Regions from separate parts of the Homo sapiens genome. Here all the other regions are linked to region 2. The links are contacts of gene promoters, found by promoter capture Hi-C in blood cells and fetal thymus (Javierre and others, 2016). All regions are on one chromosome and are shown on one strand. The core of a region is centred on a gene start or on the middle of the fragment in contact, and the rest is flanking DNA. Distances in the headings are between cores, read along the strand shown. Region 1 overlaps COPS8-DT (COPS8 divergent transcript). Region 2 holds the start of DRC11 (dynein regulatory complex subunit 11). Region 3 overlaps COPS8-DT (COPS8 divergent transcript). Region 4 overlaps COPS8-DT (COPS8 divergent transcript). Region 5 overlaps COPS8-DT (COPS8 divergent transcript). Region 6 overlaps COPS8-DT (COPS8 divergent transcript).

Region 1 (3,235 bases), core at 438-2,937, 420 kb after region 2:
CTTTCTAACAAAAAACCTGGCCAGGTGCAGTGGCTCATGCCTGTAATCCCAGCACTTTGGGAGGGCAAGGTAGGTGGATCACCTGAGGTCAGGAAATCAAGACCAACCCAGCCAACATGGTGAAACCCCATCTCTACTAAAAAAAAAAAAAAAAAAAAAAAATTAGCCAGGCATGGTGGCATGCACCTGTGGTCCCAGCTACTTGGGAGGCTGAGGCACGAGAATTGCTTGAACCTTGAAGGTGGAGGTTGCAGTGAGTGGAGATCGTGCCACTGCACTCCAGCCTGGGTGACAGGATAAAACTCTGTCTCAACAGAAAAGCCAAAAAACAAAAACAAAAAACCCCAAAAAACATAATTAACAACATGAAAAAATATATTTACATATAATATTTTTGAACAAATATAATACCAAAAAATTATACATACAGAGCAGTGACCTGGATCCTGACAGTCACACCTCCAGCATGACCAAAAGCCAGGTGCGTAGTCTCTATAAGCTTCAGTTTCCTCATCTCTAAGATGGAGCTATTGATGATTCTCACACCACAGGATTGCTATAAGGTTTAAAGGAGTTAATCTTACTATGCATTGCCTCATAGTAAACATTGTGTAGTAAATATGTGTTTGCTACTACTACTGTTGTTTCCAACTGAAGCTGTACCTTCTTTCAGTCAATATTTAGAACTAGTTAATATTTATTGTTCATTATAAATATATGATCACTGAAGTTTTCAAACTAAAACTTCTAAAAACAATTAAGATTTTCTGCTCATCATCACTGGTCATTAGAGAAATGCAAATCAAAACCACAATGAGATACCATCTCATGCCAGTTAGAATGGCAATCATTAAAAAGTCAGTAAGCAACAGATGCTGGAGACGATGTGGAGAAACAGGAACACTTTTACACTGTTGGTAGGGGTGTATATTAGTTCAACCATTGTGTAAGACAGTGTGGTGATTCCTCAAGGATCTAGAACTAGAAATACCATTTAACCTAGCAATCCCATTACTGGGTATATACCCAAAGGATTATAAGTCATGCTGCTATAAAGACACATGCACACGTATGTTTATTGTGGCACTGTTCACAATAGCAAAGACTTGGAACCAACCCAAATGCCCATCAGTGATAGACTGGATAAAGAAAATGTGGCATATATACACCATGGAATACTGTGCAGCCATAAAAAGGATGAGTTCATGTTGTTTGCAGGGACATGGATGAAGCTGGAAACCACCATTCTCAGCAAACTAACACAAGAACAGAAGACCAAACACTGCATGTTCTCACTCGTAAGTGGGAGTTGAACAATGAGATCACATGGACACAGGGAGGGGAATGTCACACACTGGGGCCTGTCAGGGGGTGGGGGGCTAGGGGAGGGATAGCATTAGGAGAAATACCTAATGTAGATGATGGATTGATGGGTGCAGTAAACCACCATGGCACATGTATACTTATATAACAAACCTGCACGTTATGCACATGTACCCCAGAACTTAAAGTATATAAAAAAATTAAGATTTTCATAATCGTAGATAAGACCTTTTTGGAATCTTTTCTTCTAATTATATGTTTATGTTCTCTTTAGCACAAGTATGGATTTCACTGCATAAATTGTTCTGTCCTGCTTTGTCATTTGCTATTTGCTGTAGCTTGAATTCTCCCCTGTATCATTAAATGCCTTTAAAAATCTGATTTTTACCCTATTGTATTTAACCATTCCATTTTCAGACATTCTGGCAGTTTGCTTAATTTTATTATAATTAATAATGCTGTGATGAACATTACTGTATAAACATGTTTCCAGTTGTTTCCAGGCATAGTAGAGATATTAAAAACTTACTTGTTTGAATGGAGAGGTGGCTAAATGGATAAACAGAAAAATGGGTGAATGTGTGACTGTTAAGCATTGGAATGTAAAGGTTTGAAGAAGATATAAAGGCCCAAGTCTATCCATTGACAGGTGAAGTAAGAATTCAGATTATTTTAAAGATAAAAGAGTCTTGAGAATATTCAAATACTGAATAAAAAGACTCAGTAGTTATGATTGTGGACTGAGGATGGAGTGAGTATGACTGATGAGTGCAGATCCCTAGAGACAGGAAAGGAATGAGATCCAGAACAGGTGCAGAGGGTAATTCCTTCAGGAGTCAACTATTATTTCGTGACTGGAGAGAAGGAAGCAAGGATGCAAGGTTGTGTGTTCATGCAGGTATGTGTAGAAGCAGGAAGAAAGTTGAGAGAGTTCTGAGACTCCAAGGGTCCCTTTTTGTTAATATCAGCATGGCCTTTCCAAACTGAGGGGCAAAAGGAGACGAAATCAGAGTTTGGGGAAAAGGGTAAAAGTTTGAGAGAGCTGTCCTAGATTTCTGCAGAATATGAGAAGAGGCTGCCACCAAGGACCACACAGAGGGATGGCCAGGCAGCTCTGAAGTATGGGTTGAATCTGGAAGCTCCACAGTGCTATGTAGAGCAGGGAGAATCATCATTGGGCTTTCCTGGAAGGGAGAAATAGAGGGACAAAGACAAAGAAGAGAATGACTTGAGGATCTGTGCAAGAATATGAATGTTGTGGCAGCCCAAATCTGGGCTGAATATTATCAGAATAGTGAAAGTGAGAGAGAGGGGAGCAGGTCTATTGTGAGATGACCAAAGGAACAACTTCTTGGAGATTTTTCTGAGTCTCGAACAGAAGGAAAGGGACCAGAGAAAGAAAGAGCTGGGATGATGGGAGATTGTAGTCAGAGAACTCCTAGGGCAGAGGAATTTAAGATTTTAGAAGTAGATAAATTACAGGGACATGTCCAAAATAGGGCCTTGATACCAAATGTCCAAAGTGAAGTGAAAGAACGTGCCAATGGGTTCAGAAGCTTAAAGAACAATGGCCATCTGGTCAAGGACAAGGGACATCCAAATCATCCAGAATAAGGGTGAGTCTTGGAGCGAAGTGGGAGACAAACACCCAGTGTGAATGTTTTCTGTGAATATGGGGCATTGACTCAACTGAATAAATGACCAAGGAAAAAGGGTGGAAAGTGGCAAACAAGATGGCAGCATCTTCCTATATAAGAGCTCATGAAGTAGCCTGAGAGTAGCCTCGGGGAGGGAGTCTCAAAGAAGAGAGAGTAGCCTCGGGTGGGAGGAGTCTTAAAGAAGAGAGTAGCCTGGGGGCAGGAGGAGTCTCAAAGAAGAGATAGTAGCCTGAGGGAGGGGGGGAGTCTCAAAG
Region 2 (3,571 bases), core at 575-3,074:
TCGTTCCAGGCCACCTCCAGAGCACCCACCCACTGAATAGCATCTTGATGCTGCCTTCCTACCTGTTCCATTGTTAAGTGCTGAGTTCCTCTACCTAAGGCCAGCACCCCCTGGATCCCATGTCCTCTCACTACCAACGATGTCACCCACTTCTCCCTCCTCCTCCTATATCATTCTGGGCCATTCCCTTCCACACACAAACATTCTATTGTTTTCTGTCTTGGAGCCATGTCCTCTGCCTCTAGCTGCCAACATATTTCCTTTCCTCTGCAGCAAAACTCCTTTAAAGAGTTAGCTATGCTCACCATCTATAGTTTCTCTCCCCCTACATTCACTTGAGTAAGTCTTTCTATCTCATCATACCACTGAATCAGCTCCTGTCAAGGTCACTGGTGAACTCCACACTGCCAAATCAACAGTCAGTTCTCAGTTCTACCCCAACTTGTCTCAGGAGCACTTGATGGAGGAGAAAGAAGTTACTTCTCCTGGAAACACTATTATTTCTTCCACTCGCTTCTTCCTCATGGATCATGTCTTTGATTCCTTTGCCAGGTCTCCTCTTCCCCCAGCCTTACTGTGGATGATCCCAGGATCAGTCCTTACACCTCTTTATTAATATTCATTCTATGTCTCACAAAGACCATCACAGGCTGACAGTGAGCAAGTTTATATTTCAGACATGGGTCTCGCTCCTGAACCCAAGATCTGAATATTTTAATTGCCTATTTCATCTCCACGTGATGTCCAATGGGCACTTCCAACTCAATACGTCTTAAACAGAACTCTTGATCTTCCCCATTTCCAAACCCTGGCAAGCCTTTAACCTCTCTGCTCTTATTTCCTTGCCTAGAATACAGGGCACGTAATAGCAACAGTGCAGGCTGGAGCTACAGTGCCCGGCTTGGCACTGTTCACTTGCTGTGTGAACTACTTCACCTCTTCATCCCCAAGTTCCCTCATCTGTAAAATGGAAATAACAATATTAACAGCCCCTACGTTACAGGGTTGCTGTGAAGCGGTTAGAACAGTGTCTACAGGGTCAGCGCTGTAATACCTGTTGGAAATTATTCTTACGAAGACCAAATGAGGTAACTTTGTGCAAGTGCTGTGTAAACGACACAGTGCTAGGCACACACTTCTTTCAGTACCAATGCCACTCGAGTCTGTGAAAAGCAAATGTCAATAATGCTTTCCCAAGATCTTTCTAGACTTAAATTTCAGGACCTAGGTGTTTCCACAAAGCACCGTATTTGTTACCGTGAAAGATTAACAAAAAAAGCAGACAAAATGGCATAGTGCTTCTCAGCAATAGCCCCTAAGGGCTTGGCAGGTATACGGAAGACTGGGAGCTCATCCCCATGGGGTGGTGGGACGCGTAGGGGAGGGGGAGATCTAAGTGTATGATTTTCCTTGCTCACAAGAAGCAGATACTCTATCCCGAGGCATATTTGAATTTCCTAAAAGGAAAAAAAGTGGGGGAGAGGAGGGAAGTTGAGAGGGGAGGAGAAAAGAAAAGAAAAAAGAAAATAAGAGAAGCAGAAAGCAAGCCACCTTCTGGCTTGGGGAAGCCCACTCCATGGCTGTGGCTGGGAGCCCATCACTTACGCGTTCGACATTGCTGGCTACTTTCCCTCTTTTCCTCGCCCTCCGGGAAGCTCTTCCGTTGCTCTCTGAAGGACGGTGGCAGCAGGGGTCAGGGCACTACCAGGAGCTACAGAGGATTTGGGTGGGGGGTCTTCTGGAGGGAGAAACCAGGACTGCGAGAATCTTCTGCTTCGGGCAGGAAAAGGTGAGGCCGGGTTTGCTTCGCAGGCACGGAGCGCGCAGGCGCAGAGAGGTGTTTCACTCCTTCCCGTCGCGACCCAGAGACTCGCGAACCTCACTTCGGCCACTCAGGTGGGCGCGACGCGGCCCTAGCAACGGAAACGCCGCGCCTGCGCATTGCCTTCCGCCTGCCCCCTCCCCCCCCCCGCCCCCCGCATTCCGCGCCTGCGCCACCGCGGGAGGCCTGGGTGGGCGCAGCTGTGGGAGCCGGTCGGAGTCCGAGCGCTCCGTCGCGGGGCCCGGCCGCTTGGCGAGCCTGCTCCGGGCCCCAGCACTTAGCCTGTGGTCCTCCAGGCCGTCTTCCCGCTTTCCTGCTGGCCCCATTTTCATCCACTGTCAGCTCTGCGGCCTTGGGCAAGGCCCTTAATGATGGTGGTCTTCAGTTTTCCCATCTGTAAACTGGGTATAACAGTCGTTCGTTCAGAACTTTACTGGGCATCTATTCTGGGCCAAGTGCAGACTTAGATTCTGGGCACCCAAGACTTAGGCAGACGCGCCCTTCGGAGACTTAATGAGTATGAACTAAGGCGCGGGTGCGTTGTAAATGTAAAATGCAGTGTGGATGCTATTAACAGTTATCCGTAAGTCGCTATGAGTGTTGGCTTTCATTGCTCTTCTTTCTTCGACTTTAGTAACTGTTGAGGTTTATTTGCACATTTTAGACCCTGCAGCTCCTATTGGAACGCCAGGTTTAATGCTGTCAAAGGCGTGGAGAGGACATCCAGGTAAAAATTATAATCAGGATCACAAAACCTCTCCCCCACCATTACTAATGAAATGCGCAAAAGCATAGTAAAAGCCAGCCCTCCGCACCGCCTTCAAATAATGGAGCAAATTATTTCTCAGACGAGAAATTGAGTACAACCTTGTACCGTAAACTTCAAAAACTCAGTGAAATAGCAGCTTGCCGTGGAGAATGGTGTCCAGCCTCATCTCCACCCTCCCAAAGCCCTTCAGGGGGCAGAGACCAAGTAGACACAACACCAAGAATTCTCATTAATGCTTTTTGATGCAAAGAATACACACACTGAAAAGAAGGGGTATGAAAGGGTGAGCCGAACGAGGAAACACCTGGGGAAATCCGGCCAGATAAAACCATCCTGAGTGGAGGTCAATCCCTACCGCTCCCAGGACCTGAGCAGGGACAGGAGAAATCTCCAGGGCTTGCCTTTTTCTAGGTCCCTACATTGAATTGAGGCAAAGATTCAAAGTCAAAGGGCATGTTGTCACAGGAATAGGGCACACTCGTGACAAGAGTGGGAGGATGGTGGTAAAGGAGCTTATCAAAATCTCAGAAGAGAGCACAGAGCCTGGAAGTTGTGTGGATTCAAGGGAGCAGTCCTTATCCTAAATGTGTACTCAGGTTCCAGAAAAGCAGAGAAAAGTGCAGTATCTCAGCTCTGGAACTCAGATACAGTGAGAAGACAGTCAAAGAGAATTCGCCCACATTATATTTGAACAAACAGAACATTTTCAAAGAGCAACACGTGTTAAATAGGAATAAGACAGAAAGAAGCAGCATATCCACTGTCTAAAACCAAGACTTTCATAAAAGTAGAAGAAAAGAAAGGATTATAACATAGGCCAGACAAGTGAAAGAAAGTCTGGAGAAAATCTAACCAAATAAATAAAAGCAGAAAAATCTTTTTTGTTTGTTTGTTTTGAGATGGAGTCTCCCCCTGTCACCCAGGCTGGAGTGCAGTGTGTGATCTCGGCTCACGGCAACCTCCACCTCCCGGGTTCAAGC
Region 3 (3,345 bases), core at 712-3,211, 510 kb after region 2:
GATTTAGAAGAAGTGCCTGCCTTCAAGGAGCTTAGAATCTGGTGGTAAGAATAAGAAAAAATTATAATATAAGGTAGTATAGTAAATTAACTGCCTACATTATAGAAACAATGATAGGGATGATCTCATTACCCTTTAGCTCATATATTGCTTTAATTCTAAATCTTGGGATATGGTTGTAAGATGGTATTTGAACCAAACCTTGCACTAGGGAAAGGAATTCTCACAAGCTGGCGTGTGCTGCCTTCCTTTAGCCCTAGCCTGTGGCAGACATCACTAATTGATTTCTCCATAATTGATTACTGCAAGGCAGGGAAGGAGATACCATGTCTGAAAGTGCCTGTTCAATGTCTGATGAAAAGCAGGTGACTAATTCAAGTTCTTTTTATTTTTCCTCTTCTTCCTTTCCCAGAAAACCAAATAAGGGTCCCAGTGACATTTTGCCATGGATGTTTCCACTGTTGGAATTGCTGTCAATGTTACTTGTTTAGTGGATGAAAACCCAGTTCTAAATGGCATCACTAATTGATCATGGCTTGCTTTCCAACTGAGCTTTACGATTCTTCTCAACACGGGGCCCTGAACTTACATCTTCAGGCCTATGAGGTGCAAATGTGCTATTGATTGTCCCACCCTGTTCTAGATTATGAGCAGCCATTCTAAGACCTGGGGTTCAGAAAAAAGAGGGATTCCAGAGGAATGCACAATCACTGGTAACTCAGGGGCTTTGATGCAGTCCCAGGCATAGAAAGTTCCTCCTCCTCAGGGTTTGACCATCACATGTCTGCCCGCACCCAGAGCCATCTTCCTCCATCCCTCCTACAGGTCAGGAAGAAAACTGGGTCCTCACCCACTAAACACGTATCGTTGACAGTAATTCCAACAGTGGGAACATCCGTGGCAAAATGTCACTGGGACACTTATTTGGTTTTCTGGGAAGGGAAGAAGAGGAAAAACAAAAAGAACTTGAATTAGTCATTAGCTTTGCATCAGGCATTGAACAGACATGGTATCTCCTTCCATCCCTTGCAGTTCTGAAAGGATGATTATATGTATTCTATCGTATCATTATATATCATGGTTTTTTAGCCACTGGTGTCATTGACAATGCCAGTAACTAAGCCAACCTGTTTGACCAACAACAAATTTGGATGTTTCTGACTTTTTTTTTTAATAGACTTTTGCTGCTACTGTTAACTGCTCAAGGCATTCTAATAGGCACTTAGACCATACCTATGATTAGGAGCTCTTTGCAATTTGCTATTGAGCCCCTAAACAGCAGGCAGACATCAAACGGTCTCTAACATGATTTGAATACCACTGGATTCTTTTGTCCTCTTCTGATTCCCTACCATAATCCTGTACACTCAACCAATAACAATCTTTTGAAGTTTATAACTTTCTTAACTTCAAAGTTTTCTCGATGCCTAAGTAACAGGAGGTTTTCAAGGTGGAAATGCTAAATGAGTATACCATGCACAGTATAAATAACACACATCCAAGGGCATCCAAGACTTCAAAACCATTTGTATTAAGCTAGACAGCAGCTGTGAGAATCTACCCTTGTATGATGTCCTATTATAAATATCAGATTAGAGGAAACTTGGGGAGTGAGGCCTTGTTCATTCATATTGGGTTTTATTAATTTCCCCGCCCCCCCCCCCAAGTACATTCAACATGAGAGCATCTTAACATACCCCAGGGGCATTCCTGTGCATTCATGCAACTGTTCTCATCAAAGGAAAAAAAATACTTCACCCCATTATTTTATGTGGCTTCCAAGAGAGTTTCAACCCTTAAAAATTTATAAGTCCTTTTCATTAGGCCACTATTGTTTGATAGAATCTTAACCTCCTTCTGACACCTTGCTTCCCTAAGTAAAAATGTAATAACAACACTTACAACAATAACAACAACACAATGACAATAATAGTAATGGCAAACACCAGGTGGTCTGCACTTTCTATAGGCTGTGTGCCTCATCTGCATTCTGTCAATGAATCTTTTTTTTTTTTTTTTTGACAGTCTTGCTCTGTCACCCAGGCTGGAGAGCAGTGGTGCAATCTCTGCTCACTGAAACCTCCACCTCCCAAGTTCAAGCGATTCTTATGCTTCAGCCTCCAGAGTAGCTGGGTTACAGGCACGTTCCACCAAGCCTGGCGAATCTTTGTATATTAGTAGAGATGAGATTTCACCCGTGTTGACCAGGCTGGTTTCAAACCCCTGGACTCAAGTGATCCACCTGCCATGGCCTCCCAAAGTACTGGGATTACAGGCATGAGCCACCAAGCCTGGCTGATTTTTGAATATTAGTAGAGATGAGATTTCACCACGTTGACCAGGCTGGTCTCAAACCCCTGGCTTCAAGTGATCCACCCGCCTTGACCTCCCAAAGTGCTGGGATTACAGGCATGAGCCACGATGCCTGGCAATTCTGTCAATTAATCTTTATCAGAGTCCCATTTTAAAGATGTGCAAACTGAGGCTGGGAGAGGTTTAGGCAACTGGCCTAAAATAATGATAAGTAACACATGGATCCAGGACTTGACTACAGCAAAGCCAATATTTTTCTTCTTCTCTTTAAATTGTCTCCCTTTCTTGTTTTTCTATAACCCAGATAAAACATTCCTCAATTGATTGATCCTAGATAATTATATATGCATATGTTTTACTTCTCCAGTGTTTTAATGTCTAAGATCGTCTACAAGTTCTATACATCAGTAATTACTGTATTTCATGAAATGGGAAGTAGCAATTTTTTCGTTTGGCAGCTTGTAAACTCAGTCAGACAGAATCAAATCACTTCCCTGAAGCTCACCACAGGAAGGTAGCCTCATTACCTAAAAAACAGAACAAAAAAGAAAAAGAAAAAGAAAAAAAGGCTCCCTTCTTCATGAGCCTTCCACGAATGCATTCTGCATCTTTATTGCTGCTTTCATTGCTTGGCTCTCGTTAGACTTTTCCCCCAGATGTTCTTAATTTGGGGGTTATTTTCCATTGCATGTGGGCCCTTCAGTACTGTAAATATTTGACTTCAATATTTTCCATAGCTTGAAGAACTTTACAGTGGTCACTTCAGACATGGTTACAGAATGTTCTCTGATCCTTTCAGGCTGCTCTGTAAATTAGAAACTTGGTAGTTGATATCTTGTGGGCTCCACACACCATTTTTTTTTTCTCAGACTTTGATGTCTAAAAGTGCATTGTGTTATTTAGGCCTTAGGCACGTATAGAGATATCCCTGAAGCATAGATCAGGGTGGCTCATATGAATGAATTTTTTCCAATTAATTTATCCTCTATGGTGGGATCTCACATTAAAAATCATATTGTAGGTTTTTTTCTT
Region 4 (3,593 bases), core at 876-3,375, 480 kb after region 2:
TTTTTGAGAAAAGAACTCTAATTCCAGAAGACCTAACCAGCGCCAATGGGGAAATGGCAAGAGGGTAGATCCACAATAAGCAGAGCTTTCCCGCAGCCAGCTTTCCCGTATTCAGATAGGAAGCAGCAGGCAGCGTGTCAGCCTCTTCCTCCCCTGACATGCTGGGAGAGGGCATAGAAGCCCATCTCCTGAGGACATTGAAGAGGGGTCCTAACATGCGGGCAGGGGAAGGGGACTAGGTTAACATCTGCCTATGAGTTCAAATTCTTTGATTCTAGATTATCACACAACAGTCTTCAGAAAATGTCTATTCCTCAGAAGTTAGAAAACAGTTGTTTTGTACAAAATATACAATTGTATATTTTGTGTATTGTATATTTGTATTTTGTTACTTATTTGTGACATGTATTTATGAATGAGAATCCTTTTGTTAAAGCAAAAGCATTTGAACACTCTCTGCTGGTCTGAGAACTTCATATTTCTTCAGTAAATCATTATAATCTGAGCACACGGACAGCATCCTTGCTTCTGGCGCCAAGAAGTACAATCAACTGGTGGAGAGTGTTTCTTAAATGAAAGTGGTGTTTCCAGTTGGCAAAACAGATTATTTTTGCTATTAAAGAAATTGATTTCTTAACACATGTGATTAATTATGTCTGTAAAACAGAAAATCCATCAAAGACAAAATGTTTTTCCCTTCAGAAAACACTTACAAATTCTTACAATGTCATTGACTAAATATGACATTCTATTAATGGGCACCTTGTCTCCAAAGATACATCTGGGCTCATTCTCCACATTGTCTTCCCTAGGCTTTTGGGAGATTGATGACTGATGACAAAAACAGGGCAGCACTCGGTGACTTTCTGCTGGTTCTTGAGAATCCAAATGAAAGTCCTACCCTGAACCTGCTCTGCAAAGGGGACCCACATGAGGTAAATGACAAAAGATGATTCCGTTTCCACGGTGAAAGGGATCTTGCTAGACAGCCTGTTGGCTTTACCTTCCAAACATATTCAGAGTCCCAGCCCTTTCCCCTCATTTCCTGCTAATTCCCCAGCCCAAGCAGGGCCATTGCATGCACAGCTCCAACATGTGTGCAACGGTGCCCTTAGGATTGTAGGGTGCACAGTCAGCCTGGGGTGGCCTTGTGATACCCAGTGGTATGGTTTGGCTGTGTCCCTACCCAAATCTCATCTCGAGTTGTAGTTCCTATAATCCCCATGTGTCATGGTAGGGACCTGGTGGGAGGTAACTGAATCATGGGGGTGGTAGCTGCCATGCTCTTCTCATGATAGTGAGTAAGTTCTCAAGAGATCTGATGGTTTTATAAGGAGATTTTCTCCCACTTCACTCTGCCCTTCTTGCTGACGCCATGTGAAGAAGGATGTTAGCTTCCCCTTCCACCATGATTTTAAGCTTCCTGAGGCCTCCCCGGCCCTGCAGAAATGTGAGTCAATTAAACCTCTTTCTTTTATAAATTACCCAGTCTTGGGTATTTCTTCATAGCAGCATGAGAATGGACTAATAGACCCAGCATCTTCTACCTGGAGTATATTTTGTATTTTTCGTATGTTTTATTGCTTATTTGTCACATCCATTTCGGAATGAAAATCCTTTTGTTAAAGCAAAAAAAAAATTGAACACTCTCTGCTGGTCTTAGAACTTCATTGTGGTTGCCTCCCAACCAGGCTACCTAAATCTACCTCCCTACCTTTCTGTTTATTCTAAACACAGCAGCCCGAGAGATCCTGTTAAAGCATGAATCAGATCATGGGACTCCATGGCTCCAGTTCCTCCAAGAGCTTCTCATCTCAACCAGGGAAAAACCCAAAGTCCCCCAGTGGCCTCAGCTTCTCCCTACCTCTCTGACCTCACACCCAACCCTCACCTCTGACTCACCCAGCTCAGGTGTGCTGGCTTTCTCTCTATTTCTAGAGCCTTGCCAGATGTAGCTGGTCCCTCTGTGGGGAATTCTCTCCCCAGTGAGCATGTTGATGGTGGGCTGTCTTGCCTTAAGTCTTCAATGCAATGTCACCTTCTCAGAGGAACTTTTTCCAACCACTGTTGTTAAAATTTCAGCTGCCCCTTTACATTCCACATCCCTCTCCCCTGCTTTAGGTTTCCCATAACACTTACTACTGTTGACATACCACACACCTGACCTATCTGGCACTTTCTTCTCTGCCTCCCTCCCAAGAAAGTGACATTTCTGACGGCAGGAGTTATTGTCTGTTTTGTTCGGTAGCTCCACTGCCTAGCACTGTGCATTGCACATAGCAGGTCCTCAATGAATATTTTTAAATGAATAAATGGATAGACGAATGGATGAATTTATGGACAGATGGGGATGGATAATGGATAGATAAATGGTTGAATGGATGGATGGATGGATAGATGGATGGATAAATGGATGGATGGGTGGATGGGTGGATAAATGGATGGGTGGATGGATGGGCAGATACATAAATAGATGGATGAATGAGTGTGTATCATTCCTCTAACCCAGAGAAAGCACAGTTGGCTGCATAAGAAGTGCCTAAACTCGAGAGTACTGGGACCACCAGCGGAGATTCTGATTCAGTAGGTTTGGAACAGGGCCTAGGAATATCATTATAATAGGCTCCCCAGGGTTCATCATATACAGTGAAGTTTGAGTTCAAGGGATGACAGAGAGGTCCACAAAAGGTTGGCTTGAACATCTGGCTGAATGATATGTTATGTACACATTAGACACTCAGGGAACATTCTCTGGGAAGGACGGGATTTAAGGAGAGGTGACAGTGGCCTTACTTTGTTTGAAGAGCATGTCGTCTGTCATATGTCTTCCTTCAAGCTTTCACAAACTGTTTACGCTATGACCCAAATTCCACCTGGAAAATGCATCAATAGAGCATGTACTGTAGCCTCCTCCATCCTCAACAGCGGAGGTCATTCATCTCCTCACTTCTTTGCTGGGAAAGTGATGGGAACTTGCAGCAGCAGAGACTCCTCATAACACATCAGCCCACCTGTCACCTGCTGTCATAATCAAACGTCACCTTCAACCAGCACCTTGCATGCTCTGAGCTTGACGCACATTTTTGCACTGCCTTTTCAGGAGTCACTTCATCCAGTTCCCTGGCAGTTACTTTCAAGCTAGAAGACACTAGCTCCATGTTCCACAGTATTTCATGCATGCCTGTCTCCTAGCCTTGCCAATACAGTGTCATGAAGAATCTGTGCACATAAAGGTCCAGTCATCTTTCATCACCAGGGCCTGAAATGAGTGGTCATTCATTAAATGTTTGCAGGCAGGAAAGAGAAAGTAGGGGGAAGGAAGGAGGGAGGGAAAGTGTAATAGCGTGAAGCCACAGCAGTTTAGCAGAAATAAGACACAAGGCACTGGCCAGGTGCAGTGGCTCATGCCTGTAATTCCAGCATTTTGGGAGGCTGAGACAGGAGGATCACTTGAAGTCAGGAGTTTGAGACCAGCCTGAGCAACATAAAAGTATCTTTAAAAATTAAAAAATATATACAAGCATTAATTTAACAAAGATGTGAAATGATAAGCAGTAGCAGAGGATAGCGAGAAGAGTGGAGGCACAGCTGTT
Region 5 (3,409 bases), core at 582-3,081, 450 kb after region 2:
TATATGAATTTAATATTTCTTAATAAGTAAACATGCATATATATTCATAACATATTATAACATTGTATAAATATTTTTAGCAAAAGACTGGAAAGATGCTGAGACAACTGGATATCTTGGGAAGAAAAATGCACTGTATAAAAATCACACCCAGATTTATTATAAATTTAAATGTTAAAGGAAAAATAATGAAGACTGTAGAAAAAAATCACATTTTAATGAACATGAAATAGACAAAGAGTTCTTAAGCAGGACACAAAGAGTGCTGAATCATAAAGAAAGAAATAAGATAGCATTAAAACAGTCTGAAATGAATAGAAATGAAAGCCACTTCCACAGTAGAAGAAGAGATTTGCAATACATATGTCTAATATATTAAAAATGTTTTAGATCAATAAAGAGATGAAAAGCCTAGTAGAAAAAATGAGACATTTCACAAATGAGGCTATCCAAATGTCTAATACACATGAAAAGAATGGCTAAAATGAAAAAGATGGGGAAAAACAAAGGGTCGATGATATGGTTTGGCTGTGTCCCCACCCAAATCTCATCTTGAATTCCCATGTGTTGTGGGAGGTACCTGGTGCGAGGTAATTGAATTGTGGGGGCAGGTCTTTCCCATGCTGTTCCATGAGAGTGAATAAGTCTCACAAGATCTGATGGTTTTGAAAAATGGTAGTCTCCCTGCACAAGCTCTCTCTTTGCCTGCTGCCATCCACATAAGACGTGACTTGCTCCTCCTTGCCTTCCACCATGATTGTGAGGCTTCCCCAGTCACACACTGTGAGTCCAATTAAACCTCTTTCTTTTGTAAATTGCCCAGTCTCAGGTATGTCTTTATCAGCAACGTGAAAATGGACTAATGCAGTTAATAAGAATGTAGATTGAGCTGCCAGCAGGATCATGTACTGTTGGTGGGAGTGTAAATTGGTGCAACCACTTGGGAAAACTATTTGGCCATAGCTACAAAAGTTGATTACAGGTGTAATTAGCTATGTAATTTGTAACTACATAGCTATGTAATTTGTAATTCCCACACTGTTCTTATGATAGTGAATAAGTCTCACAAGATCTGATGGTTTTGAAAAATGAGTCTCCCTGCACAAGCTCTCTCTTTGCCTGCTGCCCTCCATGTAAGATGTGACTTGCTCCTCCTTGCCTTCCGCCATGATTGTGAAGCTTCCCTAGTCATGTGGACTTATAAGTCCAATTAAACCTCTTTGTAGGCTATGTAATAGTGATGTAATCTGTAATTACACCTGTAATCAGCTTTTGTAGCTATGGCCAAATAGTTGTGTGGTACCAGTCCATGGCCTGTAAGGAACAGGGCTGCACAGCAGGAGGTGAGCAGTGGGCAAGTGAGCATTACCATCTGAGCTCTGCCTCCTGTCAGTTCTGTGGCAGCATTAGATTCTCATAGGAGCGTGAACCCTACTGTGAACTAAGCATGCGAAGAATCCAGGTTGCAAGCTTCTTATGAGAATCTAATACCTGATAATCTGTCACTGTCTTTCATCCCCCCACCCCTAGATGAAACCATCTAGATGGGGGAAAACAAGCTCAGGGTTCCCACTGATTCTACATTATGGTGAGTTATATAATTATTTCATTATATATTACAATGCAACAGTAATAGAAATAAAGTGCACAATAAATGGAATGTGCTTGAATCATTCCAAAACCATCCCCACCTGGTCTGCGGAAAAATCGTCCTCCATGAGACTGGTCCCCGGTGCCAAAAAGCTTGGGGACTGCTGCTTGTAGAACATTGAGAATAAACAAACTGCAATGGCTTGCCAGGGTGTGGGTGAGTCTCAGAAACATAACGTGGCATGATTGCATTTATATATAGTTCAGACCAAAGCTACAGTGATCGCAGCTACCCCTGGGGAGGGAGGGATGACAATAAGGAGGCTTGGAAAAGCTTCCAGGCGCTGCTGAGGCTGTGTGTTCAGCCTGGCACTGATTGCACAGGTGCATTCAACTTGAGAAAATTGATCAAGCCAAGCTGTGCTCTTAGGACCTGTATCTTTTTTATAGGTAAATTCCACTTTAACATTTGTTTTTTAAAAAAGAGAAATAAAGCCTGGAAGGTATGTAAGTAGTTATAATCTGTGGGTTATGGAAGATTCTTCTTTTTTTCTTTATGTCTATGTTTTCTAAAATGAGCCTCTATTACTTCCATTGTCAAACAGTTTTCTTTGGTTTTGCTTGTTTTGAAATCATTCCTGCTGCCTTCATCAGAGCAGGCTCTGTGATATGTCAGAGCCACTGGCCCACAGCGGGAAGAGCTTCCTGTTCTAGGAGGAGGCCTACTCAGTAATTTTGCTCCTCATAATCTGAAACCAGAACTTAAACTCAGGGCACATTTCCAGAAACTGACAGGGCTGACAGTCCTCCAGTGTTCACTACTTTCTTCCTGGGGCAGCAGCCAGGTGTGTTGTCCCAAATGCCATCTTTTCCAGTGCAGGCTCTGACCGTGAGAGAAGCATTCAAAAGCACAGCAAGTCTGCGAAGTCCAGGATGGGATCCTCATTGCTCAGTTCTCCTCTTAACAGCCTTCCAGCCTAGGCGATAGGGCAATACCCCCTTCTACACAAAATACAAAAATCAGCCAGGTGTGGTGGCATGCACCTGTGGTACCAGCTACTTGGGAGGCTGAGGTGGGAGGATCACTTGAGCCCAGGAGACGGAGGTTGCAGTGAGGGGTGATCTCACCACCGTACTCTAGCCTGGGTGACAGAGTGAGACCCTGTCTCAAAAAAACCAAAAAGGAGTGAAGTGTCCTTTGTGAACTGGAAAGTGCCAAGGAGAACTGGAAGGAGGCTGATTGTACACCTACTCCAAATACGGCTTGTTTAACTGTCAGTCACCTCGATGTCCCAAAGGGAAAGAGACTCTTCTGAAGATGCTGATGTTGGCACATGCATTTAAGGTGAGCACCTTACTTACACTTCAGTCAACAACATGCTTACCTAACACATTCTGTGATCAATATGTTCGTGGTCTCGATATTAGACCAAGTGACTCAAACTGGCTTATTTATCATGGCACCTAAAAAAAAGAAAACAGAGATGGGTGTGACATTTAGGCAATATTTGATCTTAACTCTGTCTCTATTTCTTTGCCATTTTCTCAGCCCTGCCCATCTCTCTGTACTTGCCACCTCCGACATCCACGATTGGAAGATGGCAGCAGTCACCAAGTCTACACGTGTCCTCATTCACCTCCATAAGATTTGAGTCAATTGGAACACTCCTGAACCAACCCCATATCCCAGAGAAAGGCAGGCTCTGATTAGCCAAGGCCTAATTGACCTGCCCTATCCACTGTACTGGGAATAGGCTTGTCCAGTCAAGGAATTGGGGATGGAGTTGCTCTTCCCAAAACTCCACAGCTGCTGAATTGA
Region 6 (3,102 bases), core at 459-2,958, 400 kb after region 2:
ATACATATATATATACACATATATATATACATATATATATACACATATATATACATATATATACACATATATATATATACACACACACACACACACAAATATATACATATATATACACACACACAAATATATACATATATATACACACACATATATACATATATATATACACACACACACATATATACATATATATATATATATATATATATATATATATATATATATGTATTTTTCCCCCCTAAAGAACAATGACTTTGACAGGAATGAGGTTGAACAAACATTTATTTATCGCCTGTTTTCATAGGGCAGATGGAGAAGCAGTTTTATGCTCAGGGAAAAGAACTGATTTTAAAAGCTTACGTATTGGGATATTGTTACCAAGTCCCACTCAATGCTATGTTATTAACCAGATGGTAAATGTCTCATTTAAATGTCCTTTATTGAACATCTGGGGAAACTGTTTCTGAGCCATGTTTTTGCTCATTGCTCACTGTGACGGGGGTGATTCTGTTGGAGTGGATGTTGTTGCTGTTAACCTGCAAGTGTTCCCGGTTCAGACCCCATCCTGTGGTTTAATCCATGTCTGCAGGATGACAATGAGTTGCCATTTACGAGAAATGTAATCGCAGATTTTGGAGGCCCCAGCATTCCTTTCAATGTTTATAGTTTCTGGAAAAGAGGAAAATTTGTTCTGTAAATGTTGTGTATTCGTGTTACACATTGTAACTGCATTGCACGTGTGTGGCCCCGCTGAGGAGCATGGGCTATTTAGTTATGGCCACCGCTGAAGATTGGTGCCACTGATAGATGGCAAGTGACAGCAGGCAGAGGAGAGCGTGATTTTATGTGATTCTTTGAATTTTCTCATGTCATTTGCAGCAAAATATAAAATCCTGACTACCAAATTTAAAACTACAAAGGAAAACAGGCAGGGCGCGGTGGCTCACGCCTGTAATTCCAGTATTTTGGGAGGCTGAGGTGGGCAGATCACTTGAGATCAGGAGTTTGAAACTAGCCTGGTCAATGCGGTGAAACCCCATCTCTACTAAAAATACAAAAATTAGCCAGATGTGGTGGTGCACACCTGTAATCCCAGCTACTTGGGAGGCTGAGGCAGGAGAATTGCTTGAACCTGGGAAGTGAAGCAGAGGTTGCAGTGAGCTGAGATCGTGCCATTGCACTCCAGCCTGAGTGTCGCAGTGAGATTCCGTCTCAAATAAAAAACAACAACAACAACGACAAAAACAGTCCACGTTAAGACAGAATTCTTGTCAGTTGTGGAAAGAGAAATGCTCTCCTTCACCTATTTCTCTGTTGAGGCAGCCTGAGCATGCGACTGTCCTGTGACACACCTTCATTTCGGATGCTGTGCCCGGCCCCGGGCTCCCCACTTTTCCACGGTGGAATCCACATGTGCATTTTGTAGTCATGGCTTTTACTCACAATTTTCCCTCTAGATGCAAACGCGTCTCCATGAGGAAGAGCAAGGCTCCTGCAGGATGGAGATCAGATGGATCAGGGATCCCACAGACAGAACCTTTTGCCTGATATGAGCACCCTTGGGAGAGACCTCTTCACACAAATGTTCCTTGCAAGGAAAACACTCCTGCCTCACTTTCTTCAACCCAGCCATGACCTTTCTTGGTGAGAAACTGTAGGAAGAGTTGGATCTCTGGTGTGTGTGTGTGTGTGTGTGTGTGTGTGTGTGTGTGTGTGTGCATGGTCTGATATGAACTACGTAGCCTCTTCCTTCCGGGATCAGCTCCTCACTGTGTCCCCAGATGAGGCTTTAACCCCTGAGTGCCCTGGATGATGGTGCTGCTGCCCCCTGGCCCTGCTCACCTGGCCCCTTCCCTGGCTCTCTCTCTGCAGGGACAGGGTCACACCAGGGTTACAGCATCTGCCTCCCAGCCTCCCAGCTGGCCAGCCCTTCTGCAGTGGCTCAGCCGCAGACCCCTCCTGCACACCACAGCCAAAAACGATTCTGCCAGGACTACAGCATCCCGTGAAACTGACGCTTAATGATGCAGAACTCCACGTTTCCTGTCGTCAACTTGTCATCATTTTCCTTCCCAGAACCCCCAGCACCTCTGACACCGACCTGGATCTCTACTCCAGAAACTCAAAACCCATTTTTGCCACACCGTCACGCTAGCTCTCCTTTGCTCCCCTAATCCAGGTCCCCGTTTCTCTGCACCTGTGCCCACCACCGGGAATCTCTCCTGTTAAGTCGCCTCCTCCATCCCGCCTTCTCCTGACCCCGTTGGCCCATGCGTCTTTGAACTTTTGCAGAATTTGCATCTGTAACAAATTACTTGCTATTTAATTATGTTCTGTCATATTATTCCTGTTGAATTTGGCTGAGAACCATGCGCTCCTTGAAAGCAGAAACTGTCTTTGTTGTTCTGTGTCCTGATTCAACCCACTAGCCCCAGAGCACGTCTGCAGGAAAGGCCTTCTAAGCTCAGGTCATCAAGCTCCTCCCAACTGCACTCTTTTACTTCTGTTTTTCCAAGTCGATCTTTTTTTAAAAAAAAACAAAAAACTTAAATGAATTCATTATTAAAAAAACTTTTTATCACCTCCAGAAATGGAAAACTGTATCATTTGCCATCAGTAGAATTTGGCTGTAAAAGCAAATTCCATGTAAACAGAACAATGCTGTTGGGTCCTACTTCCTCAGTCTGAGACCTGCTCTTTCTCCCGTGGTCATGGAGACTCCAAGTTCTAAAGACATACTAGGAACAGAGAGCAGCTTTTATTGTATCCAGAAGAAGAGAGACAGAAAAAAACAGAACCACCTGAAAAGTGAACAACTTCCTCACTCTGTGATTGGCAGTTGTTGAATCCAGTGAACAGGCACCACCAAAGATCACCCTCAGCCCACACCTCAGGACCCTCTGGTACAGACTCCAAAATCTACCACTTACTGTGTGAGTTCCAAGTAACAAACTCTGAGTATTATCTTATTTAACTCACTCTGGGGTGAGTTCTCTAAGGAAGAACCCATTATTATCCCGCTTTCCAGATGAGGAAACTGAACATAGCAGGAGAAAGAAGCTTGACCACAACCACACAGTAGTAAGTGACTAAGTCAGG

The links. The method cuts DNA at HindIII sites, captures the fragments that hold promoters and counts their contacts. A CHiCAGO score of 5 or more calls a contact.
Region 1: a fragment that was not itself captured here is called in contact with the fragment with the promoter of DRC11 in region 2 in 1 of 17 cell types (M2 macrophages); the score reaches 5.6 in M2 macrophages.
Region 3: a contact is called between a fragment that was not itself captured here and the fragment with the promoter of DRC11 in region 2, in 6 of 17 cell types (M2 macrophages, M1 macrophages, monocytes and 3 more). The highest score is 19.9, in M2 macrophages.
Region 4: a fragment that was not itself captured here is called in contact with the fragment with the promoter of DRC11 in region 2 in 3 of 17 cell types (M1 macrophages, M0 macrophages and M2 macrophages); the score reaches 6.2 in M1 macrophages.
Region 5: a contact is called between a fragment that was not itself captured here and the fragment with the promoter of DRC11 in region 2, in 2 of 17 cell types (M2 macrophages and M1 macrophages). The highest score is 6.9, in M2 macrophages.
Region 6: a fragment that was not itself captured here is called in contact with the fragment with the promoter of DRC11 in region 2 in 1 of 17 cell types (M2 macrophages); the score reaches 6.8 in M2 macrophages.

The regions. Positions count from the first base shown.
Region 1 is chr2:236,929,453-236,932,687 of GRCh38, forward strand. The region is part of intron 2 of COPS8-DT (COPS8 divergent transcript); the gene reads right to left. Among named protein-coding and RNA genes, the nearest start is that of COPS8-DT, 150 kb to the right of the region's middle. The HindIII fragment of the contact is 2,380 bases long and covers 498-2,877 here.
Region 2 is chr2:236,505,652-236,509,222 of GRCh38, forward strand. DRC11 (dynein regulatory complex subunit 11) reads right to left here and starts at 1,825. Exons shown (of 19, transcript NM_024726.5): 1 at 1,606-1,825. The coding sequence starts at 1,616. RefSeq lists a silencer at 1,951-2,000. The HindIII fragment of the contact is 24,475 bases long and covers 1-3,571 here.
Region 3 is chr2:237,017,288-237,020,632 of GRCh38, forward strand. The region is part of intron 1 of COPS8-DT (COPS8 divergent transcript); the gene reads right to left. Among named protein-coding and RNA genes, the nearest start is that of COPS8-DT, 67 kb to the right of the region's middle. The HindIII fragment of the contact is 4,861 bases long and covers 1-3,345 here.
Region 4 is chr2:236,990,224-236,993,816 of GRCh38, forward strand. All of the region lies in intron 1 of COPS8-DT (COPS8 divergent transcript), which reads right to left. Among named protein-coding and RNA genes, the nearest start is that of COPS8-DT, 94 kb to the right of the region's middle. The HindIII fragment of the contact is 1,417 bases long and covers 1,418-2,834 here.
Region 5 is chr2:236,950,930-236,954,338 of GRCh38, forward strand. COPS8-DT (COPS8 divergent transcript) reads right to left here. Exons shown (of 3, transcript NR_187934.1): 2 at 1,692-3,054. Among named protein-coding and RNA genes, the nearest start is that of COPS8-DT, 130 kb to the right of the region's middle. The HindIII fragment of the contact is 181 bases long and covers 1,742-1,922 here.
Region 6 is chr2:236,910,504-236,913,605 of GRCh38, forward strand. It overlaps COPS8-DT (COPS8 divergent transcript), which reads right to left. Exons shown (of 3, transcript NR_187934.1): 3 at 268-672. Among named protein-coding and RNA genes, the nearest start is that of COPS8-DT, 170 kb to the right of the region's middle. The HindIII fragment of the contact is 2,705 bases long and covers 357-3,061 here.